Linked DNA regions of Homo sapiens: regions 1 and 2 are each linked to region 3. The links are contacts of gene promoters, found by promoter capture Hi-C in blood cells and fetal thymus (Javierre and others, 2016). All regions are on one chromosome and are shown on one strand. Each heading gives the region's core, a stretch centred on a gene start or on the middle of the fragment in contact. The rest is flanking DNA. Distances are from core to core; before and after follow the strand shown. Region 1 holds the start of LOC101926944 (a long non-coding RNA gene). Region 2 overlaps FGGY (FGGY carbohydrate kinase domain containing). Region 3 holds the start of FYB2 (FYN binding protein 2).

What was found. Contacts are between HindIII fragments. The CHiCAGO score rates a contact against its expected background, and 5 or more counts as called.
Region 1: a fragment that was not itself captured here is called in contact with the fragment with the promoter of FYB2 in region 3 in 2 of 17 cell types (naive B cells and total CD4 T cells); the score reaches 5.3 in naive B cells.
Region 2: a contact is called between a fragment that was not itself captured here and the fragment with the promoter of FYB2 in region 3, in 9 of 17 cell types (total CD4 T cells, naive B cells, non-activated CD4 T cells and 6 more). The highest score is 15.7, in total CD4 T cells.

Annotation. Positions count from the first base shown.
Region 1 is chr1:59,770,991-59,773,690 of GRCh38, forward strand. The region is part of intron 4 of LOC105378758 (a long non-coding RNA gene); the gene reads right to left. LOC101926944 (a long non-coding RNA gene) reads left to right here and starts at 1,805. Exons shown (of 3, transcript NR_110627.1): 1 at 1,805-2,047. The HindIII fragment of the contact is 9,709 bases long and covers 1-2,700 here.
Region 2 is chr1:59,754,273-59,756,972 of GRCh38, forward strand. All of the region lies in intron 14 of FGGY (FGGY carbohydrate kinase domain containing), which reads left to right. Among named protein-coding and RNA genes, the nearest start is that of MIR4711, 22 kb to the left of the region's middle. The HindIII fragment of the contact is 5,194 bases long and covers 1-2,700 here.
Region 3 is chr1:56,818,028-56,820,727 of GRCh38, forward strand. FYB2 (FYN binding protein 2) reads right to left here and starts at 1,377. Exons shown (of 20, transcript NM_001004303.5): 1 at 1,255-1,377. The coding sequence starts at 1,263. The HindIII fragment of the contact is 7,052 bases long and covers 1-2,700 here.

The DNA.
Region 1 (2,700 bases), core at 115-2,614, 3.0 Mb after region 3:
GCCAACTAAGTTTGGGAAACACTGAGTTAAATATGTCTTGTTACTACAGAATATCTTATACTAATCTTGTAATATACTCATGTGCATTGTGAGCTTCCTAGAGAAAAATTACCTGTGAAGCATTTCCCAGACTTACTCCTTTAGACAAGTTTTTTACAAAGCATTTTATTGCACATAATGGAACAACCACAGTATTTCGAAGGTTAATTAACCAAATCATCATGTTTTCACCTGAGTTGTATAGATGTTTTTCTTTCATATTATCTGTTGGAAGGTTTATTCAGCAAATTGATAGCTCCTATTATTAAAATTTTGGTTATCTAATTACAGAATTAAAATGATATTCACTGCTATAGAAATTATTGCCTTACGAATGAATGTTGCTAATTATCAATGTTTAAACTAGTCATTAGAAATAGGCTCAAAAAGACCTCTACTTGGAAATATAAGAAATTTCAACTGAAAGTTGTCCCTTCAGTTAAATTAAATTGTAGCTCCAGACCATGGGTCAAACTAACGGGATAGCAAGTGTCACATTAACTAATTATTAACTAATAATTAATTATTAACTAATAATACAATCATGCATTTCTTTGTTATATTTTTAAATTTAGTATTTCCATCCATTCTAACTTTGAAGTCTTCCTTCTCTATCCTGTATTCCATGTAGGAAACTCCCTAGTAATGTATATCAGGCCAAGAATATCACGCCTCTCCAACTTACTTCCCCTCCTTGTGCACACCCTCACCCTAAACCATACATACAACACAGACAACATTAATATATTATTAGGTCTTTTGCTAAAAAGAGTAAAAAGTTATTTCCTTAAGATCAAGCAAATACTAAAGGATAGTGTAGCTAACATTAGCTATTTTGCGACATGAGTTCTTAATACTAAATGTCATGAGTTCTATTAAAGTTGTGCTGATTTAAATTTCAACCTTGTATAGATATTTTAATATCATTTTGACAATATACTTCTAAGCTGTTTATTTACTTTAATGGTTTTGTAAGAAGTTTCTGCATACACTACAAGATAAAAACTTGTTACAATTAAAAAGGATTTGAAGGAACCATGAAGTTATTTTAACAGTAAACATGTTTATTTTTTGTATAAATTGTGCATTTTCCTTTTTTACATCTACATAGTAATTTTTAAAGTATAATTTCTGAAACATATGGCTTAGCTGTTCTACACAGGTGCTACATAGAGCTGGAGAACATATTGTGCTTATATGTATTCAAGCATATGTTTCAATCCTACTCTTTTTACAATAAACATTTCATCGACTTCCTGCTATTTATATCAGGAACACGTATTTGGCCTTGATTTCACCTGCTCTTTTTGTAGAGAGACTTACAAAGAGACTCTGGGAGGTTATGGAATCTACAGGAAATAAATACAATGTCGATTTTGTTACAAGGTGATTGAGCTGGTAAGGAAGTGGTTAAAAAATAAACCTTTACAACTGTAAGTGTAGAATGAGATAACAATGTGTTACTCTTTTCGTTTTTTTCTGATTATTTTACTCTCCCCAAAACCCTTTTACATTTGTACAAAAACTTAACTCAGTGTTTAAAAAATATTGTTTCTCATACTATAATCACAACTCTAGTTTTAAGAATAAACAGTTAATATACCAATAAGAATAACTAATAATAATAGTAGCTAACAGTGGATAAGTGCTCACCATGGGCAGGCTCTGGTCTATGCCTGATCCCACTTAATCTTCATAACAAACGGAAATGATCAGCACTGTTATTTATATTTTGCAGATAAGGAAAACGAAGCACAGAGCAATTAAATAACTTGCCCAAGATCGCCCAAGATCACCCAAGATGTCCGGCTGAAGTTCTTAACCATTACCTTACACTAATCAACAGCAACAATAATAATAACCACCTTTCTAGGATGCAAATTATGTTCCAAGAACTTTCATTATTTCATTACATCTGCATAGCCCCAAGAGTAAATAATATCCTGTTCTATTGAAGAAGAAACTGAGGTCCCAAGACATGAAATTACTTGCTCAAGGTCACACACTGGTAAGTGGCATTAAACCACCTCCTATAAGTGTCAGAAGATAATTGGGGCTGAGGTGGAGCTGAGATTTTAAAAATATCAGTGGTAGGAGATAGACGATGTGATGCCCCATTTAAACTACATGGCAGTGGTGTCCTACGACTAGGAGAGGAGAGGCGGGAAAAGCTGAAGTCTCATGAAATAAAAATCAAAATAAAAAGAATGCTTGGCGATGCTATTAGTATATAGTCCCCTTTCGACACTTAAAAAATGCTCAGAAAGAGTGAAGATTTACTGCTAGAGGGGCTATGTTTTTAACTCTTTATACTCCAGACACAAGCTGCACTGCTATACAGTCAGCAGATGTTTTTTAGGAAAGGGCTAGATAGTAAATATCTTTTGGCCTTTCATATTATTTGATCTCATTCGCTACTGCTTAACTCTGCCATTGTAACAAGAAGGCAGTCACAGACAATATGTGAATGAATGGGCAGAGCTGTGTTCTAATAAAGCCTTATTTACAAAAACAGGTGGTCCTGCAATGTGGCCTGCAGGCTGTAGTGTGCCAGCCTCTGCTCTGGCCTCTGGGGTGGTGGCTTTGGGAGTATTGAGGACCAGTCCCCTAAGTGCGGTCATTGGCATTCTCATAAGTGTAGTGCAAACAGCAAGACAGTGG
Region 2 (2,700 bases), core at 81-2,580, 2.9 Mb after region 3:
CCCTGCCTCTGAAAACCTCTCGCCTGAAATATTGTTGTCTTGGTTAACACCTGTCTATTCTCATAGATTGCTCACTACTCTTCTCTTAATTCCTCAGGAATCCTTTCCTTTTTTTTTTGTTGTTTGTTTGTTTTGGTCTCTTTTTTGTTTGGTTTTGTTTTGAGATAGAGTCTTGCTCTGTCTCCCAGGCTGGAGTGCTGGAGTGCAGTGGTGCAATCTCGATTCACTGCAACCTCTGCCTCCCAGGTTCAAGCAATTCTTGTGCCTCACCCTCCCCGTGGGACCACAGGCACATGCCACCATACTTGGCTAATTTTGTATTTTTAGTAGAGACGGGGTTTCACTATGTTGGCCAGGCTGGTCTTGAATTCCTGCCCTCAAGTGATCCACCCACCTTGGCCTCCCAAAGTGCCAGGATTAAAAGCATGAACCACTGCTCCCGGCCCAACCTCATGCTTCTTTATGGTGACTGCTCCACCTCGTTAGGTGGCCATGTTGGACAGGATCTGAGAACCCCTGGCAGCTCTCTCATACATGGGCCACTTGGGGTCTATGGGAAACCTTTGTCTTTTGGATCTGGACAGACTCTGGCAGTGCTGGTTGATCCCAGGGTAACCTCTACTTCACTTTTACACTGCAGCTGTCAGCCAGCCTGTCTCTTCCAGACAGGAGTCACATACAAGCCACCATGTGCCACAACCTCAGGGACATGCAGCAGATTCTCTGCTGGTCTGTGTCTTCCTGACTCCTGAAGGGAGAGGATCTCTTCATACTTCACCCTGGAAGGAGGCCTGATGTGCAGTAAACCAACAGCTCTTTCCTAAAAATCCATCTCTGTCTGACCTTCCACATCAATGAAAGGTTTAAGAGTTGATTAATGGGTCCTCAGGCACCCTTCTTGCACATTCTTCAGGGTGGTCTGTTTCCAGTTCACTTTGGTATCTTATATCTGTCATCTTTAGATCTCAGCCAAAACTTCCATTTTAACATTCCGTCACGTGTATTATCCTTAAGTTCATTCATTCCGTAGACATTCCCTGAGTGCATACGATATGCCAGATGCCGAGTTTGGCAGTGAAAATAATTATAACAATTCCTGCTTTAAGGCGCTCACAGTCTAGTTGGGGAGGCTGATCTGTTAACAAAAAAATATGGTGCCATGTCATAAACGCTATGATAGACGGAAGCAGAAGTTGCTGTTGGAGCACATAACTCAATATAGGTGGGAGGCAGGCAGCGGGGATGAGTCAGAAAAAAATCTCAGTAGAGCTGATACCTGAGCTAAGTTTAACATTTAAATCTGTACTTTCTGAGAAACAGCATAACCTCTTTTTAAACCATTGAAATCTCTCTTGCTGATGTTTGCTTCTCAATTTATTTTTAAAACAAGCAAAGGTAATGTGGAGAAAGGAGGGAAGAATTCCCTGATGTCTGCCGTTTATGTGCACATCTGTTGCAGTGGGAAGGAAAATAACATTTATGGAGTACCTTCTATAATAGAAGTTTCCTGGATCCCACCCATGAGGGCGATCCTGGAATGTTGTCTCAAGTGTGGGGCCAAAGCACAGCCAGGAGGAGCATTCCCTGAGGGCAGTTTGAAGATTCAGAGCTGGCAATAGAAGGCAAGGTCCTCCCTAAAGCACAGCAGAGCACAACTCAAGGAAGAGACGAAAAGGACAAAATAAGAATGAGTGGCACGGTTGATGATGGGGATTGCTGAGACCATCTCAACAATACCCCGGCTTGCTCTAAGGGAATCAGGACTTCGTCTTTGAAGGAAACTGTTCTGGGGTAAGCAGAGCTCTTAACATACCTCTGCTAAGTGGAATGGCAGCATGTTCACTAAGATGTGTTTGACCATTTGGCCCTCCACAAAATGACTCCAGACAGCCCTTTTAGTCTTCCTCTTTCTCCATGGTTTCTTTGTCAATAATTTTTCTTCATTAAAAAAAATCTCCTCCCTACTTAAGGCTGCCATTTCTTTCTGTTGTCATTGTGCTGGCTACTCTTAGCATCTCTGATCTCCCAATCAGCACATTCACATCCATTGAGAGCTGGGAAGCTAGATGTCTAGTTCAGAATGCACATGCTATCCTTGTGGAAGAGTCCATAGAGCAACCTAGCAGGAGTGGAAATTCGTGTAAGCTAGCAGATGAAAGAACCATCAGGTTACCTAACCCTTGAATAACTACTGAAAGAAGTTTATCCGCTTCTAGCGTAGTATTTATCACACTCTATTTTGATCACAGTAAATGTCTTTTCCACTCTATAGTGAGCTCTTTGATGAAAGGCCCATGCAATCTTCCTCTCTGTATTCCATGTAGATTGAGTGTTATGCTTGGCACGTGAAAGGGAGGCAATATGTTTTATGAATAGTCCAGGTGTCGAGACTTAGTAGTAAACAGACAAGTCCTTGCCCTGTGTAGCTTACATTCCGGTTAGGGCAAGGAGTGGAGAAGGCAGACAACGAACACATAAACCAGTAAATATACAAAGTGGCAGAAGGAAATTAGTGGCATGCAAATCAGTCAATCAGTCACAGTAAGGTGGCAAAGATGGTCAGGGGAAACACTTGGAAATGTTTTGAAGATACCCAGGGGCTCTCATATTCTGTATGGTATTCAGATTTTTTTTTTTTTTTTACATTTTTTCCTCCCTTACTAGTATGTGAGTTTCTCCAGGATAAAGAGTATGTCGTAT
Region 3 (2,700 bases), core at 127-2,626:
TGAAATAATGGATGCCAGTGCGGATCCTGGCCCATCAGAGATGGGGAAAATGTAAGTCAGTTTCCTTTTCTTACAAGCACGCTAAATCTATTCAGCCTGGCACTTTCCCGTCAAGGAGGAGTTTCTTAAAAATTGCTAAGTGGTATGGTCGAGGTGGGGGTGGCGGGGAGAACTCAGAGGAGGGAGATGAAGTCATACCAACATGCCCCTGCTCACCCCTTTCCAAAACTCAGCTATTTGGACTGGAGTGATTTGCCACAGAGAGAAACATGCCCTTTGCCCTGAGACAAAGGGGAGCTTTTCCTGACCAGCAAAAGCTAAAATGGATCCTCTGCCCTGATTTAAAACCAAACTTGTGGGTGAGAAGCCACATGATTCATGGGAGAAAATGACTTGACTCCAAATATATAATAAAAAGTATGGAAGCAACACACACACACACACACACACACACACACACACACACACACACATGCACACGCACATCAAAAGAAACTGACTTACTGAAGACGGAAATAGAGGAGAGTGGAGAATTGGAGAAGGAAAAAGGAAGATGTGGTCAGTCAGGCAAGACGTCTCCAACTGTGCCAACAGCACTCAGCCATCCAAGGGGCAGGGAATGCTGGCGTAGGGCAGGATACTTTTCCATACATCTCTATTTATACAAGCACCTCTGATAGTCTCACAAAGTAGTTATTGTACCAGTAATTCTCTTTCATGAGTGAGGGACCCAGGGCTCAGGATGACGGACACACTTGCCCCAGGCCACACAGTTAACAAGGAGCAGAACCCGGTCTAGAGCCACAAGCCACAAAAGAGCAATGCACAGCCGGCTTCCTAGCACCAAGCACTGCTCTCTGACCAGGAGGCCCGCTAATCACTGCAGAGGCCAGATACAGTCCACAAGGGCAAGTAAACACAGAGAGAAGCCAGCGGGCGCTTCAACGGAGGATCTGGGAATAGGTCAGGAGTCCAGCTGGCTGGGTAGAGCTAGGCCACATGCTGTCATTCCTCAGCACCTCCTGTCCCCTCACACTCCAGGTGGCACAGGACATGGCACACTCCTCTTCCCTCCCACCCGCCCTGAGCAAAGCCAGTGTGAGCAGAAATGCACTGGCTGACACCTGACATGTTTATTCCTGCCCAGGAGGCAGCACACACAAGCAGTTTTTCCCCAGGGCTCTCAAGTGGGAGGAACTTGTCCTGCAAGAAAAGACACACAGAAAGCCAGCAACAAAACTGAGACAGCCTTACCCCTTCCATTGCTTTCCTCCAAGGCAGAGTCAGGGAAACAAGCCCAGCCTCTCAGAGCTGGGTCCTGGGGCCAACAATCCGCTTTCCTCTGTCTCTGCTAGCCAGGGAGCAATCACTTCCCACAGGACACACCTGAGCCCAGGCTCCCCACCTGCCCCATCTGGGCCGAGGCTCCTCCCTTGCCTGGGGCTGGGCCAGGGCCGGCCGCCATCCTCCCAGCTTGGCTTAGACCAGCACCTGCAGGGGACTGGGGAGAGTACTCCACCTGCAGTCCTGCCAAGCCCACCTCTTCTCAGCAAGCGGCTCTTCCCGTTGCTCCCCTCCGGCTGGTCTGACAGTCACTCACTCTCCAGGGCATTTGTGCCCAGGCAGCAGGAGCTGTGAAGGAATGGGGATGGCAGGCTCCTGTTAGTACAGACCATGCAGGCTGGACAGTGTGATCCCCGTTAGTAACAACCTCTGCCAGCTCCGCCCCTGCAGACGGCTACTTAATTTCACAAACCCTTTCTCACGGTCAGGGAAACCAAAGCCCAGCAGGACAGCATGCCTAAGCCCACAGGGGGATTTAGTGGAGGCCAGAAAAGGAGTTAACATAAAGGAGCACCCTGTTTTTGGCCTGGTGTTTATTGAGGCATTTGGATTCCCATTTTAAAAGGTGAAGAATGGCCGGGTGCAGTGGCTCACACCTGCAATCCCAGCACTTTGGGAGGTCGAGGTGTGTGGATCACTTGAGGTCAGGAGTTTGAGACCAGCGTGGCCAACATGGTGAAACCCTGTCTCTACCAAAAATATAAAAAAAATTAGCCAGGTGTGGTAGTGGGTGCCTGTAATCCCAGCTACTTGGGAGGCTGAGGCAGGAGAATTGCTTGTACCTGGGAGGCAGACGTTGCAGTGAGCCGAGATCATGCCACTGCACTCCAGGGGGACAGAGTGAGACTCCGTCTCAAAAAAAAAAAAAAAAGTGAGGAAACTGAGTCTCAGAGAGATGGTAACACCTGCCCATGGTCACATAGGTAGTAACTAGAAGAGCCAGGGTTGGAACCCAGATCTGGCTGACTCTAAAGTGATTTTATTTTGCTGGGGTTATTTTTGTTTGTTTGTTTTTCTGACAGAGCTGGAGATGGAAACCCAAACCTCAGTTGCCAGTTTTGGGGCTTTCAGCTCTCCCGGGGTTGGGGATGGGCAGAGTGGGTGGCCTGCGCCCTGCTTTATGTGTAACCGGTGTGACTTTTCTTGCTTTGTCAAGTTCTTAGAAATCTTCTCCTGTCCTGACCAGGGAGAGGCGGGGTGGAGCACAGGTGAGGAGACCCCGCCTGAGGGCCATTTCCTCTAACAGGTGATTCCCAAACCTGGCTGATCACCAGAGCTGCCTGGGAATCTATCAAAAATACAGGATTCAAGTCCCAGACAAAACACTGCATCAATGCTTCTGGCCCAGGGACTGGC